3 separate regions of the Homo sapiens genome follow, and regions 2 and 3 are each linked to region 1. Evidence: promoter capture Hi-C in 16 types of primary human blood cells and fetal thymus (Javierre and others, 2016). All regions are on one chromosome and are shown on one strand. Each heading gives the region's core, a stretch centred on a gene start or on the middle of the fragment in contact. The rest is flanking DNA. Distances are from core to core; before and after follow the strand shown. Region 1 holds the start of DYNC2H1 (dynein cytoplasmic 2 heavy chain 1). Region 2 holds the start of PRDM10 (PR/SET domain 10). Region 3 holds the start of PRMT3 (protein arginine methyltransferase 3).

Evidence for each region. Contacts are between HindIII fragments. The CHiCAGO score rates a contact against its expected background, and 5 or more counts as called.
Region 2: a contact is called between the fragment with the promoter of PRDM10 here and the fragment with the promoter of DYNC2H1 in region 1, in 1 of 17 cell types (naive CD8 T cells). The highest score is 8.3, in naive CD8 T cells.
Region 3: the fragment with the promoter of PRMT3 here is called in contact with the fragment with the promoter of DYNC2H1 in region 1 in 3 of 17 cell types (total B cells, total CD4 T cells and non-activated CD4 T cells); the score reaches 7.4 in total B cells.

The regions. Positions count from the first base shown.
Region 1 is chr11:103,106,566-103,111,429 of GRCh38, reverse strand. It overlaps DYNC2H1 (dynein cytoplasmic 2 heavy chain 1), which reads right to left and starts at 2,004. Exons shown (of 89, transcript NM_001377.3): 1 at 1,661-2,004. The coding sequence starts at 1,855. RefSeq lists enhancers at 2,172-2,221, 2,292-2,411. The HindIII fragment of the contact is 957 bases long and covers 1,473-2,429 here.
Region 2 is chr11:130,000,734-130,005,546 of GRCh38, reverse strand. PRDM10 (PR/SET domain 10) reads left to right here and starts at 2,712. Exons shown (of 21, transcript NM_199437.2): 1 at 2,712-2,825. PRDM10-DT (PRDM10 divergent transcript) reads right to left here and starts at 2,923. Exons shown (of 1, transcript NR_024233.1): 1 at 61-2,923. RefSeq lists silencers at 1,989-2,378, 3,089-3,408, 3,419-3,468, 3,499-3,678 and an enhancer at 2,489-2,578. The HindIII fragment of the contact is 10,759 bases long and covers 2,327-4,813 here.
Region 3 is chr11:20,384,465-20,388,998 of GRCh38, reverse strand. It overlaps PRMT3 (protein arginine methyltransferase 3), which reads right to left and starts at 1,283. Exons shown (of 16, transcript NM_005788.4): 1 at 1,225-1,283; 2 at 845-980. The coding sequence starts at 1,252. RefSeq lists enhancers at 413-462, 318-924, 925-1,532, 1,406-1,575, 3,455-3,956 and silencers at 1,013-1,572, 3,889-4,089. The HindIII fragment of the contact is 3,061 bases long and covers 637-3,697 here.

The DNA.
Region 1 (4,864 bases), core at 755-3,254:
CTTACTTTCCTCAGCCATAAAATAAGAAAAAGAATAGTTCCTATCTTACAATGTCGTTATGGCTATTAAATGAACGAATACATATAAAGTACTTAGAACAGTGCTTGACAGAGTCTAAAGTGAAAATAAATGTTAGCTATGATTATCCATCCTTTTTATATCTTTGTAAACCCATCATGCCTGGCAAAGTGCCTTGCATGTACTGAGTTCAAAGTAAATGTTTATTAAATACAATCGAATTAAACCTAAGAATAAAGATAGTGAATAGGGTGAATGATTCAATCATCCTATAAAAATGCACTGAAGCCAGGCACGGTGGCACACACCTGTAATCCCAGCACTTTGGGAGGCCAAGGCGGGTGGATCACCTGAGGTCAGGAGTTCGAGACCAGCCTGACCAACATGGTGAAACCCCATTTCTACTAATTGCAAAAAATTAGCTGGGTGTGGTGGCACATGCCCTGTAATCCCAGCTACTTGGGAGGCTGTGGCAGGAGAATCGCTTGAACCCGGGAGGCAGAGGTTGCAGTGAGCCAAGATTGTGCCATTGCACTCCAGCCTGGGTAATACGAGCGAAACTGCGAACTGCGTCTAAAAAAAAAAAAAAAGGCACTGAATGTTTTTGCTGAGTGTCAAAAACTCTGCTAGACCTAGGGATAAGGGTGAACACCAAAGGAAGAGGTTTAAAATATGTCTTTGTTTTATTAACTTAAATCTATTTACTGAGTCCCCTTTAATGTGTCAGGCAATTTTCTTCTGTGTTTTTCTTTTAGGCTTATATATATAAGCCCTGATTGCAAATGCAACCCATTTTTTAAGCAATCCTGCCAGTGGAGGGAGCAGTGCAATTAATAAATCAGTATATCACATGATGTACACCAAAAAAGAATTCAAACTTTATTTTGAAATATATCATTTCACAAAAATTTAAATTCCTAACTAATCTTTCCCTTGGGCAATGTTAAAATCAGAGCCTGATCCAAAAAAGATAGACTAGAATTTGCCTTCCCCCCAAAAAAAAAACTCAAAAAGGGGAGAGAAAAAAATAAAAATAACTAAGTAAATGTTTTCTTTTTAGTTATAACGTATCTGCAGTCTTTCTTAAAAAGTAGAATATAGGCCGGGCGCGGTGGCTCATGCTTGCAATCCCAGCACTTTGGGAGGCCGGATCACTTGAGGTCAGGAGATGGAGACCCACATGGCCAACGTGGTGAAACCCCCGTCTCTACTGAAAATACAAAAATTAGCCAGGCGTGGCGGCGCGCGCCTGCTACTCGGGAGGCTGAGGCACGAGAATCGCTTGAACTCAGGAGGTGGAGGACGCAGTGAGCAGAGATCGCGCCACTACACTCCATCCAGCCTAAGCGACAGAACGAAACTCCGTATAAAAATTTAAAATAAAACACAATCTAATTGCTTCTATTCAGATGTATGGAAGGGAAACATGCTTCGGTCAGGTAGGATGCAAAGCTTGGAAACTACCTGCTTAAGCACGAGGCCAACGCATCTAAGCCAATAATGCAGGAGAAGTGGAGACAGCCTTGGGTTCCTGAAAAGGATCTGGTTGGTAAAGCTAAAGAGTGTGACCCGACGTCCCTCTGGCTGGGCCTGGGGACTTGAAGAGTGGTCAGGGGTCAGGCAGGAGTGCAAGGAACCGTACCGTGTTGGAAAAGGAGATTCCTGCGTCGGATCGCTGCACCCTGAGGAGCATCTGGTTGCCGTCATCCAAGAAGTTGTTGATTTCAAGACAGTTGCACAACAGTGGCTGATCCCAGAGTTCAGACATCAACCCGAAGTAATTCTGGGTAGTAGTGAAGATGAAGAGCTTCCGAACGTCCGCAGTCCCGTTCGCCATGATTGGAAGGGGTGGAGGGAAGTTGGGGGAAGGGGGAAGGAAGAAGAAACCAGTCCGGAGGGAAGTGAAGGGAAGAGAGGAGCTTTGCTCAAACCCGTAGCCCGACCGCGGGACCGCAGAGCTTCGCGGTTGCCAGGGGTAGTCGCTATGGCGACGGAGCACTACGGCGGCGTCGCTGGCGGCGCGCGGTGGGCGTTGCCCTCTCGGGGCACGCGCACGCAAAGCTCGCGGAGGCTATCGACCGCCTCGGAGCTCTTCAGCGGCTCCCTGCGGTCATCGATTGTAAGGGGTTCGGACAAGTTTATGTTGGCTCTCAAACATGTCTTTTATTCTTCTTACTGATTTCTTATCACGCATAATCAGAAGAGAGACATCTAGCCTTCAAGTACAGCAGCGTGATCTAGATTTAGGAGAGCTGGGTTCCAGTGCTCGCTCTCCACGTGCACCTGGTAGCAAACCAGTCTGTCAGCGTCAAGGTACACATCTGTTAAGAAGGGGAAATACTATCTCACAACCAGGGGTGTAGTGCGGATTGTAAAAGATTACTATTTAAAAATCGCTTTTTAGAGAAGCTTATAAAGACTAGGAATTCAATACAATGTTAATTTACTTTCTCAGTCGCCCTCTGCTCCTTTCTGTGCTGCTGCATTTCCCAACATCGTTTTTTCTATTATTAATTTTAGAATAATTTAACCAGCAATTTTTTATTGCAATCATTACCCGAGCACAACCATATTTGTAAAATAGCTAAAATGTAAAATGATACTTTTTAGTTTATTTTATAACAACCGCAACCAAATTCTGTGAAAATACAGATATGAAAACGGTCTTTGTCATTTTCTACTTCATGGCATTACTATAAACTACTAAATTGCTGGTCATTCATCCGAACATTCGTCAAACACTTTCTCAATTCAGTAATTCTCTTCTAAAAATATTTACTACATGCTATTAGGTTGGTGCAAACGTAATTGCGGTTTTTTGGCAAGAACTGTAATTACTTTTGCACCAATCTAACACAATTTGCCAAGTACCGAACTAGGCCCTGGGGACACAGTTCCTGCCCTCAGGAAGTTTTTGCTGTAGTCATTCATCACCTCAGCACTGGTTTGACCCAAGATCCTAGGGTACACAAACATATGCAGATTTTTTTTGTTTGCACTTAATAATCATAACCTCCCCTTAAAACTATACTATTTGAGAATTGGAAGGAGAGAGTCCTTTTATTTGCTGAGCAACTTAAGATTTTGGAGTGGGAACTTAAAAAAGCTGAACTGCTCTAAATTATAAAAGGAAATGAATGTAAATTCTCATGAAATATCCAAACAGTGAGAGATGGGAGTCTGGCCACTGGATGGGAAAACATCCAAACAGTGAGGTGGGATGCTGACCACTGGGTGAGGGAAAAAATCCTAACAGGAACCCAAGATGACTGTGTAGCTAATAAAAAGATTTTGAAAGCCAAAGTGACCACTATGGTTACAGAGTTTCCTGCTCTGCAATGAGCATTATCACTCTTACCAAGGTCTTCAGGAAAGTCTCCATTACCCACAAGTGCTCGGTTTGGTGAGTTGTTTTGGTGGAAATGTATGAAATGGCTGAATTGAGCTTCCATAACAATATGGTAAATAAAAAGGCAACACATGTAGGAAGATGAGTCTAGAAAGCAGATGAGATCATGAGTATGTGATCCTCCCAAGAATTTTTAGAACTCTTCAGGAAACTTAGGGCTTCCACAAACTATGAAATTGTGTTTGAATCAAGTTTAACACCGATCTCAAACATGGAAGCTCCCGTTGACATGTAAACCCCATGAAATAGAAGTTTTGTGTTTCCTTTTCACTACTATATACGAAAAATGAGGCACAGAGTGGGAAGAAAAGACAGATACGGACTTTATGTATTGTATCAAGCATACAATAAAGAAGAAAGAACCTCACAGATTAAATAACTTACACAAAAACACAGAGATGGTAAGTGGTAGAACCAAGATTCCTACCAAAATCCAATTCTGAGCCAATCTCTATATACCATATCACAGTGTTAGCCAGATATCCACCAAAATCTATTTTTCCCTTCCATAGCTAAGAAGTGGCTACCATCCAGGTGTGGTCATGTGACTAATTCTCACCAATAAAATGTGAGAAGAAGTAATGTGTGCGTCTTCAAGGCAAAGTTTTAAAGAAGTGAGAATACCTTAACTTTTGCCAGCTGGTTGCAGATAACAATAAAGCAACAGGGATGGCAAAACTTTCCAAGAGTAGGACCCTAGGATCCTGAATCACAGAGTGGAATAATGTCTGCAGTTGTTAAATAAGCAAGAAATAAGCTTTGTTGTGTTTGAGGCATTGTACATTAAACTGTGTGGGCTATTTTTATGGCAATTTAGGCTACTCTAACCAAAAGAGTAATTGATATCCATAGTGTAGTAATGATTTTTTTTTTTAATGTGGAGCATTGTCTTAGCAGTTGTCTGGCAGGTGGCATAAAAACAGGTAACGTGAGCTGAAGGGGAAGGCCCAAAACTTTCTGAGACAGGGTTTCCTAATTTTGTCCTATATGCCATTTCCCAAACTTTTTGGTGACCTTTTTATACTTTATACTTTAAACAATTATTTTTATACTTTAAAAAATTACTGCCAGGCACAGTGGCTCTCGCCTGTAATCCCAGCACTTTGGGAGGCTGAGGCGGGCAGATCATGAGGTCAGGAGTTTGAGACCAGCCTGGCCAATATGGTGAAACCCCGTCTCTACTAAAAATTCAAAAATTAGCCGGGCACAGTGGCGCACACCTGTAATTCCAGCTACTCGGGAGTCTGAGGCAGAAGAATAGCTTGAACCTGGGAGGCAGAGGTTGCAGTGAGCCAAGATCGTGCCACTGCACTCCAACCTGAGTAACAGAGCAAGACTCTGTCTCAAAAAAAATAAAATAAAAAAAATTACTGAAGACTTCAAAAGGATTTTGTTTCTGTAGTTTATTTCTATCAACATTTATTGTAATCAAAATTA
Region 2 (4,813 bases), core at 1,463-3,962, about 27 Mb before region 1:
ATTTCTTTTCTTCTTGTTACCTACACTAGAATAAAGCTGCATGACAGCAGGGCCTTTTTTGGTTGCTGTTGTTCCCTATTCTATCTTTATTGTTTAGAAAAATGAATGGCACACAGTACATATTCAATAAATACTTCTTGTATACCCCAGTGAGTGAATTTTACAGTGTAAACTTTAAAAATCATTTAAAAATCCACATAAAAAGCAAATTCCTGAGGTTCACTCCAGACCCTCTGAATAAAAACTCTGTGGGGAGGAATCTCCCTGCACATATTTATGTACTTAGAAGTTTTAGAACATTTCTCTAAAGCCATGAGAGTAACTCAGGCTCTTCAGTTTGAATAGCCCCATTCCCCATGGTGCGTTCTCTTTTGGGTTCTGTGGTGTTGTTTCTGGTCAGTGGACCTCAGTTGGGACCATCTCAGTTCATCAGCAAGGATGTAATGATGTTAAATCTAAAAGTGAGCCGTTCTTACTGAGGCCAGGGGTATGTGGAGTGGCAGCTTTTGCAAGGACACAGAAGGACCTGTCCAACCTGCGGCATTGTTCATCTACTCGTAACACTAAAAGGGAGCATTCAAGGGACTCTCTTAGCCAATATGATCTTTCCTTAGGCAACTGATTTCCATGTCTGTGTTGCCAGAGTAGGGCTACTAGTGTCTCTCACTAGCTATGTTAAGGTCGGCCTCATCTAAGTCCAGTGCCACCTGTACAGTGGTTTAAGGAAGAACAAGACACGGCCTAGATGTGAAGTTGTTTACAAAGCAGTTAACTGTCTGAAGTTTCTTCTTGTTGTTGTTTTGTTTTTTTAAAGACAGAGACTTGCTCTATCACCCAGGTTGTAGTGCAGTGGCACGATCACAGCTCACTGCAGCCTTGACTTCCTGGGCTCAAGTAACCCTCCTGCACAGCCTGCCGGTAACTGGAACCACAGATGTGTACTGCCATGCCTGGCTAATCTTTTTGTTTTTTGTACAGAGTCTCACTATGTTGCCCAGGCTGGTCTCGAACGCCTGTGCTCAAGCGATCCACCCGCCTCGGCCTCCCAAAATTCTGGGATTACAGGCGTGAGCCACCGCACCCTGTCACGAAGTTTAAAAAAAAAAAAAAGCTCTCTTTTCTTTCCACGTTGTTTCCAGCTATTTAAAGAAACAAAATGGTAGACTAGACGCAGTGGCTCACATCTGTAATCCCAGCAATTTGGAAGGCCAAGGCGGGAGAATCACTTGACGTTAGAGTTTGAGACCAGCCTGGCCAACATGGGGAAACCCCATCTCTACTGAAAATACAAAAATTAGCCGGGCGTGGTGGTGCATGCCTGTAATCTCAGCTACTAGAGAGGCTGAGGCAGGAGAATCGCTTGAACCCGGGAGGCAGAGGTTGCAATGAGCCCAGATCTCACCACTGCACTCCAGCCTGGGCAACAGAGCGAGACTCCGTATCAAAAAACAAAACAACAAAACAAAACAAAAAACAGTAAAGAGAATACTATTGAGTTAATTTTACAGTTTTTCACGCTGTGGGTGTTTTCTATTCTCGTCTTTTGCTTAGCTGTCCTGTCTCCCTCTTTTTCTCAGGCAATAGTTTAGGATTTTTGTAAGTTATATTGTCAGTACTTCTCATTTAAGTTCCAGACAGTGTGCTAAGCAAAGCACTTTACTCGGTAAAGTAAGAGCTCACTTAATCTTCAAAATAACGTAGCAAGGTAGATATCACGAACATAGCAAGGTAGATATCACCGAAGGGAAAACCGCTCCCCGAAGGTCCGAAGGTCCAAGGTCTCTCTGCCATCTAGCTGCCCTGCGTATTGCCTGCCAGTGGGTAGTTGGAGCTGGGTATCTCTCCAAAGCTGGGCTCTTGGCTGCCCTTTGTGAAGGCAATTTTAAGGGACAGCAGGATGTGGAAGCCTGCGGTTAAGGAGTGAGCTGAGTCACTGGGTAACCAGTGTTGAATAATGTTTCTCAATGTCTGAAATGACACTCACTTCCTTTCCAGATTGGTAGAGGAGAAAAAAGAGGCGCAGTGAAAGCGCTCTCAAGGTGCGGTGGGTCAGGGTGATAGGCGGCGCCCGGCCGCTCCCTGGGGGTCCTGAGGGCGAGACCCCGGCAGGCTCCCGACTCCGGGAGCCGGGCGGGAGTTCGGTTTTCGCCGGCGCTCCACGGCCAGGCCACTTCGGAGGCAATCTGTGGCGGGGCGGGCGGACGCGAGGGCCGCCTCACCCCCGCGCGTCTTCCGGGACACCGGGCCCTCGGGCGCGCGGGAGGCGGGCTTAGCACGGGCGCAGGCTGCCCTCGGCGCCCGAGACACCCAGGCACAGCTGGAAGCTTCCTCCCCGTTAGCACGCGGGCCGCAGCGGGGGCTTGACCCCAATGCGAAGAGTCGGGTTTTCTGATTGGCTGAGAGTAGAAACGCAGGCGAGCGCCGCCTGAGACCCGCTCTGCGATTGGGTTTTACACGAACAGCAGAGCACGAAATAAAGAGGCCTTCAGTCATTGGGCCATTATGTGAATCTCCTTTTGGCTTCTCTGCAGACTGAATAAGCGTCTCAGGATCTTCGTCATGACTCCTAAATCTGGGCCTGTCAGTTCGCCCCAGCGTTTCTCGTCTCTAGGCACGGCATGGGGCTTACAGAGTTTAACCAATCATATAACGTCGAGATCAGGTTGCCAGGCAGATTATGCTAATAAGACCCCGCCTTTTATGCTGCTCCCACTCTGCGGCGGGAAGAACCACCTGGAGGTGGCGGGGGGGGTTGATTTCTATCACCCCTAGGGAGAGAGGATCGGGGACCCGCTGATCTTCCAGCTCCCCTCACCCAACGTCGTGTAAGTACCTAAAGGATTAAGGGAACCAGATAAGCCAGGGTCCAGACTACCCCATAGACTGGGAGGGTGTTTCGTCTTTGCTTAGTCCCACCCAAAATGGCGCCCAGCTCTTTCCGCGTCTCAGAGCCCGGCCGGGGCCAACCGACCGCGGACCCGGGTGGGGGGGGAATTGATGGTGGTGGTGGGGGGGAGAAATCCCGGCGGCACCGCCCGATGGTACAGTCCAGCCGGGGCTGGGACGAGGCACCTCACTCGGGGTGGGGGGTCAAACCATCTGCACCTTCCAAGGGGAAGAGGGCAAGGCCCCCTCCAGCAGGCCCTCCTGGCGCCGCGTTCAGCGCCGGCCTCGGCGTCTCGTCGCCCCTGCCTTCGCCGCGCGCAGCCTCCCCCTGCGACCCCCGAGTGGCTCGCACGCTCCGCCGGCCGCGCGCACCTCTCCTCCCCTGCCCGCGTTGGTTGGGCCGGGACGGCGGTTGGGCGGCCTGCGCGCTCCGGCGGCGGCGGTTGCGCGGGCGCTCCGGGCGCGGCGGGCAGGTCTCCGCCGGCCGGGAGCCGAGCACCGGGGGCTGGGGGCCGGGCGCCGGGCTGGGGGTGGCAGTGCGGGCAGGGCTCCGGGGCTGGCCGGTTGCGGGCGCGTGGGGCGGAGGGTCCTGTTCGATGGGGCGCCCAGCTTTGTCTGCGGAGGCCGCGCCGCCCACTTGCCATCGATGGCTGGGCCCCCGGCCTGCCTTCCCAAGCTAGCGTCCGGGACCGGGGCGGGGGGCCGGCCCGCAGGGGTGTGGGGTGGCCCCTGCGGGTCTGTCCCGTGGCACCGCGTCGGGGCTGGCCGGGCGGAGGCGGAGGCCGAGGCCGGGGTCGCGGCCCTGCCCCAGTCCGCCTGCACCCAGGGTGCAGCGCAGAGGCAGGGCGAGGCCGGTCGGCGCTCGGGAGAGGGCTGATGGTGTGCACCTCTCCAGCCCCTCGCCAGCTTTTGTTAAGCAGGTTTAACCCTGCAGCTAGGTGTTGATACTCTACTAAGTAAAATGGAATATTCCCCGTCTGCCCTCCAGCCACGCGAACGCAGCGCTGTTGAATTTGTGTGCGCGCCTTTAGCCTTGCTTGGTGGATGAGTTGGATTTTAGTGCATTTTCAATCAATGTGCGTGTACACTTAAGCACAAGGAGAGGTGGCTTTGTGCTGTCATCGAGGATTAGATGTGTGATGAGACCCACCCAGCTCTGCCCTGTGCCCTAATTCTGCTGCTTTGCCTGTTGAAACCTTGCCTGTCTCGTCACCCCAAATTCTCTAAACTTAGCAGTACTTAACCTTTATTAAAAACAGCAGAATCACTCATGACTGTTTTGTGGCCTCTTTTTCTGACCTGTTCTCTTTGTTTCTATCACTCCTCCATCGCTGTAAGGCAAGAAGGTGTATTATTACATTGTATTTTTTTTGTATCTTCCTACCATTCCAGCATCACAATAGCTTCCACTTTGATGAGCAGTACTTATTTGTTGTTCTAGAATAGAGAAAACAAGATTTTTTTTTAAAATTAGGATTGGTTGGGGGCAAAGCAGCGTTTAAACAGTGTTTATTCAATATGGGGTATTTAGAAAGGAACTTTGCTAGGTTTATTTAGGAGACAGGGTCTCTGGTTGCCCAGGCTAGAGTGCAGTGGCGCGATCTTGGCTCACTGCCGACTCGACCTCCCGGGCTCAAGGGATCCTCCTGCTTCAGCCTCCCTAGTAGCTGGGACTACAGGCGTGCACCACCACGCCTGGCTAATTTTTCTACTTTTTGTAGAAACGGGGTTTCATCATTTTGCCCAGGATGGTTACGAACTGCTGAGCTCAAGCAATCCTACCGCCGCAGCATCCCTAAGTGCTGGGATTGCAGGCATGGGCCCCCGCGCTCGGCCTTTAGGTTTACTTTTACAATAAATTGAGGTGAAGTTGACACAGAATGAACCATTTTAAAGTGAACAGGGACGTTTAGTGAAAGGATTACAT
Region 3 (4,534 bases), core at 34-2,533, about 83 Mb after region 1:
AGGCATTCTATCTACCCAATGGGGCTACAGATGAGAACACTAACGCACCACCACTCAGCACCATGCCCAGATACAGGGAACACTGGAAAATGTATTAAAGTAACACCGGCCAATGCCAACCGGGCCTCTTTCATGCCTACTTGCCTAGGACAGGAGCCAAAGCTTCCCAAGACTAACAGGCAGAATTTTAAGTGGCAAGAATGTGAGTTTGGAAATAAGCACACCACAGCTTTGTGACCTTGAGCAAATTATTGATACTACAGTCTTTTTCCTTAAGTGAAAAGTCCTACTTAAGTAAGGTGAACTTCCTTCTTAGACTATGGAAACCGCTCAAATAAAAAAGAAATGTTTCACCTGAGAAGCTCTGTACTGGTCAAAGAATTAGCATGGTAAAGCCGGAAGGCTCCGTAGGGATTATCTAGTTCAGGGTGGCTGCCAAATATGTTACTCGTTAGTAGTAACTCGTTAGTAACTTCACTGTTACTTCCGATCTTGTCCTCATAAAAACAGAATATTCTTAGACCCCATCCCTGACTTGGAAGGATTCAGGTGCAGAGTTCAGTATCATTTTGTTTTCAGCGTCTCAAGTGACAAGATTTGGGAACCACAGATTCAATGCACTACCAGTCAAAAGCTTGCAGTACAACCGGCCTTCCAGTTCACGGTTCCCCCTCTCTACTACCGAGGGTCCTCCTTCTCCACAAGCCCTCACCCCAGACCAGTGGTTCCAGAATTCAAAGACAGGCCACTCTGGCTTGCCTCCCGCCCGAAGGCGTTCCTGGGCACACAGACCCCACGCGCCCGGGCACCCTAGGGCAGAGGCCAGGCGCTGAGGCGGACGAACCTGTTACAGAACAGGCAGGGGGTCTGCTGCTTGCCGTGGGGGAGATCTGCATCGTCCTCATCCTCCCAGGCGGCCTCGTCCCCGCTGTCCGACAGTTCTGGCAGGTCCTCCTCATTCTCCACAGCGCCCCGGCCGCCTAACACACACACACAACAATCAGATCGGCCTCGGACACCGGTGCGGCCCGGGGGCTCGAGGAGCAGGTGACGATGGGCTCTCCTCCGCCCCGTTCGCCCGCGGCCCTCACTCAGCACCTCCTTCATGATCCCTGCGAGCCCCCCACCCTGCCCGGGCCCGTGTCCCGGAGGGTCTTCCACCGGCCCCACAGCGGCGCGGCCTGGGGCTGGACGAGCCGGGTGCTGAGGGGCCAGGGTACCCACCGGTAGCGCCTGACGCTAACGAGCACATGGCTGTGGTGCCCCGAGAGCCCGGCGTGTCTGGGGGCGGGGACCGGGTTGGGCAACGAGCGCGCGCAGCGGCCGCCGACTCCAGGAACGAGCGCGAGCACAAGCGCGAACCCGCGGCGGGACCCGGGCTCCGGAAACTTCGCAGACCGCCGGGAACGCCGAAGCGCGCGCGCTGGCTCGCAATCGCTTCCGGCCTCGAGGCGCCGTGCGGGTCACGTGAGGTGGGGGCGGGGCGAGAGCGGGGGCTCCGCCTCCTCCTGCCGCAGGGTTGGCGCAGTGCGCGCTGAAGAGGCGCGCTGATGACGGTTAATGTTGCAGCCCGGAAGATGACTTTTGTCTCCTCCTTGGGTTGCGGCAGGCGTTAGTGGGAGGTCGCGGCCCGCTGCTGTGAGCCCCAAGGCAGAGAGACGTCGCTGCGGTTTTGGGGTTGGCATCCTGTCCTCTGTGCGCCCCTTTTTCCTGGGATGAGCGGTTAGCGGAGGGGCGATCGGCCCATGACGCCCTCTGGTGGCGGAGGAGGCCAAACGCTGGAGGCTCGGCTGGTTTCTGGGCTCCCAGGTCCTGGAGGGGGTGCAGCTGGCGAGAGGGAACGAACTGCATGGGCCAGGGTGGGTCTACTGCAGGGACAGATAGGTGTCAAACCCCCCAAGACGGATTTTAATCTTTGGTTAAGTGAGAACGTGAACTCTAGAGGCAGCCTGCTGGGTTTGAATCCTACCCACGTCACTTTGTAACTGTGATCTTGGGCAAGTTACTCGACCTCTCTCTGCCTCAGTTTCATCAAATACAAAACAAGGATAATAACTGCACTTGGGCAGGGCACGGTGGCTCACGTCTATAGTACCAGCACTTTGGGAGGCTGAGGCGGGCGGATCACCTGAGGTCAGGAGTTGGAGACCAGCCTGGCCAACATGGTGAAACCCTGTCCCTACTAAAAATACAAAAATTAACCAGGTGTGGTGGCACGCGCCTGCAATCCCAGCTACTTGGGAGGCTGAGGCAGGAGAATTGCTTGAGCCCGGGAGGCGGAGCTTGTGGTGAGCCGAGATTGTGCCACCGTACTCCAGCCTGGGCAACAGAGCAAGACTCCATCTTAAAAAAAAAAAAACAAAAAACAAAAAACCTGGACTAACTTCAGAACTACAGTAAGGATAAAACGAGTTAATACATGTAAAGTGCTCAGACATAACTATTTAAGCCAGGGAGTGATGCTCTCAGATGTGTTGAGAAAGTAACAATCTGGCTGCTGTGTGGGGAAGAACACAAATGTTCCCCTGCCTGCCTCATGCCACGTCCCTTTCTTCCTTTCCTTATATCTCTTCAAACCATAGAACTTTTTTTTGTTTGATTTTTGAGACGGAGTTTCGCTCTTGTTGCCCAGGCTGGAGTGCAATGGCACGATCTCAGGCTCACCGCAACCTCCACCTTCCGGGTTCAAGCGATTCTCTTGCCTCAGCCTCCCGAGTAGTTGGGATTACAGGCATGCGCCACCACGTCCGGCTGATTTTGGATTTTTAGTAGAGACAGGGTTTCTCCATGTTGGTCAGGCTGGTCTGGAACTCCCGACCTCAGGTGATCCACCTGCCCGCGAGCCACCGCCCGGCCCAGAATTCTTGCTTAGGAGGGAGTGCCCCAGGCTCTAGCAGAGTTTATCTAATTGGCCTATCAGGCCCTGCATAATCCTGCCTCTTTCCAATGGAACCCTTCACCTTGGGTCCCACCCTTAAGCCTTTTATTTACTGCTAATCATTGAATGTTCTACACATGGGTAGGTCCCTTTGGTCTCAACCAGAAACACTTTCCTCAGGCCATTTCTAAAATAGTTTCCACCATTATTTCAGGAGTATCCTGTTAGTTTCTTAGCACCCACCATTTGCTTACTTGATTTTTTTTTCTTTTTTGGTGATACCCCACAGCACTGAACAATAAGGGTAAGTAAGGGCCATGTCTCTTTACTTTCATTTCTCTGGCACATAATATGTGGCCTGGCCCATAGTATTAATAGATACTGAATGTATTCACTGAATAAAAATGATGCCTTATATTATTGCTAAATGTACTTCTAAATGTACTTTTCTCCCTTAATTGTAAATTCCTAGAGGACAGAATCCATTAAATATTAGTTTTTGTTTTTGTTTTTCTTTGAGACAGAGTCTCGCTCGGTTGCCCAGGCTGGAGTGCAGTGGTGCGATCTTGTCCCACTGCAACCTCCACCTCCCAGGTTCAAGCGATTCTCCTGCCTCAGCCTCCCAAGTAGCTGGGATTATAGGTGCTCACCACCATGCCTGGCTAATTTTTATATTTTTAGTAGTGACAGGGTTTCACCATGTTGGTCAGACTGGTCTTGAACTCCTGACCTCAAGTGATCTGCCCACCTCGGCTTCCCAAAGTCCTGAGATTACAGGCGTGATTGACCGCACCCGGCCCAAATATTAATTTTGAAGCTTTCTTACATCCTAGGACATTGCCAGAATAGCTGCTGGCTCTCTTGAGTTGGAGTCATCGTTCATGGATGCATCCCCAGTGCCTGTGTGCTCAGTGGCACATGAAAGGCACTGAATAAGCATTTGCTGAATGAATTAATGAACACTTGATTACCTGGGCCCATCCAACTTTTCCCTTCATCCTTCCAACATAAACTTTTTCTGTCTGTGTAACATTTGGTGGAAAACTTCCTGAATCCCTTAGTACTAAATGGAACACCCAGTCCATTCAGTGTTGACAATAAAACAAGTTAACACCCATTGTGGAGGAGTGATTGGGCCAGAGTCTTGTTCCTTAGTAAGTTCATATCTCACCACAATGCAGAGCTCAAGAGAGGGCTGCTTTTCTCTCTACTCCAAAGGTGAACACAGACCCTTCCTCATTATCCCACATCACTACTGAGACCAGAATAACATGTTGAATGAAACCTGCTCGAAGGTTTGTGAGTAAGGAAATAATATAAGGAGAATAACTTAAAACAGGCCACTGGGTTTAGCTGCTTTCAGAGCCCAGAGGCCTCAACATATCCTCGGCCCATGCTTTTTCACCATCAAAACAACACACTTAGGCTCTTCAAAGTCCAACTCCCAGGGAACCCCACCTGGCAGAAGGAAGATATTTCATTTCCTTTTAAAGCTCACATTTCAATATCCCACCCTGCCCTAAAATATGCCTCTTTTTTGGGTGACTGACACTGGGAATGTCTTCTCCCTTCTAAGGATATACACTCCAAATTAAGGAGAATGGCCTTTATCCTCCAGTGTATACTGAAGCTTGAAATGTACTTGGCATACAGTAG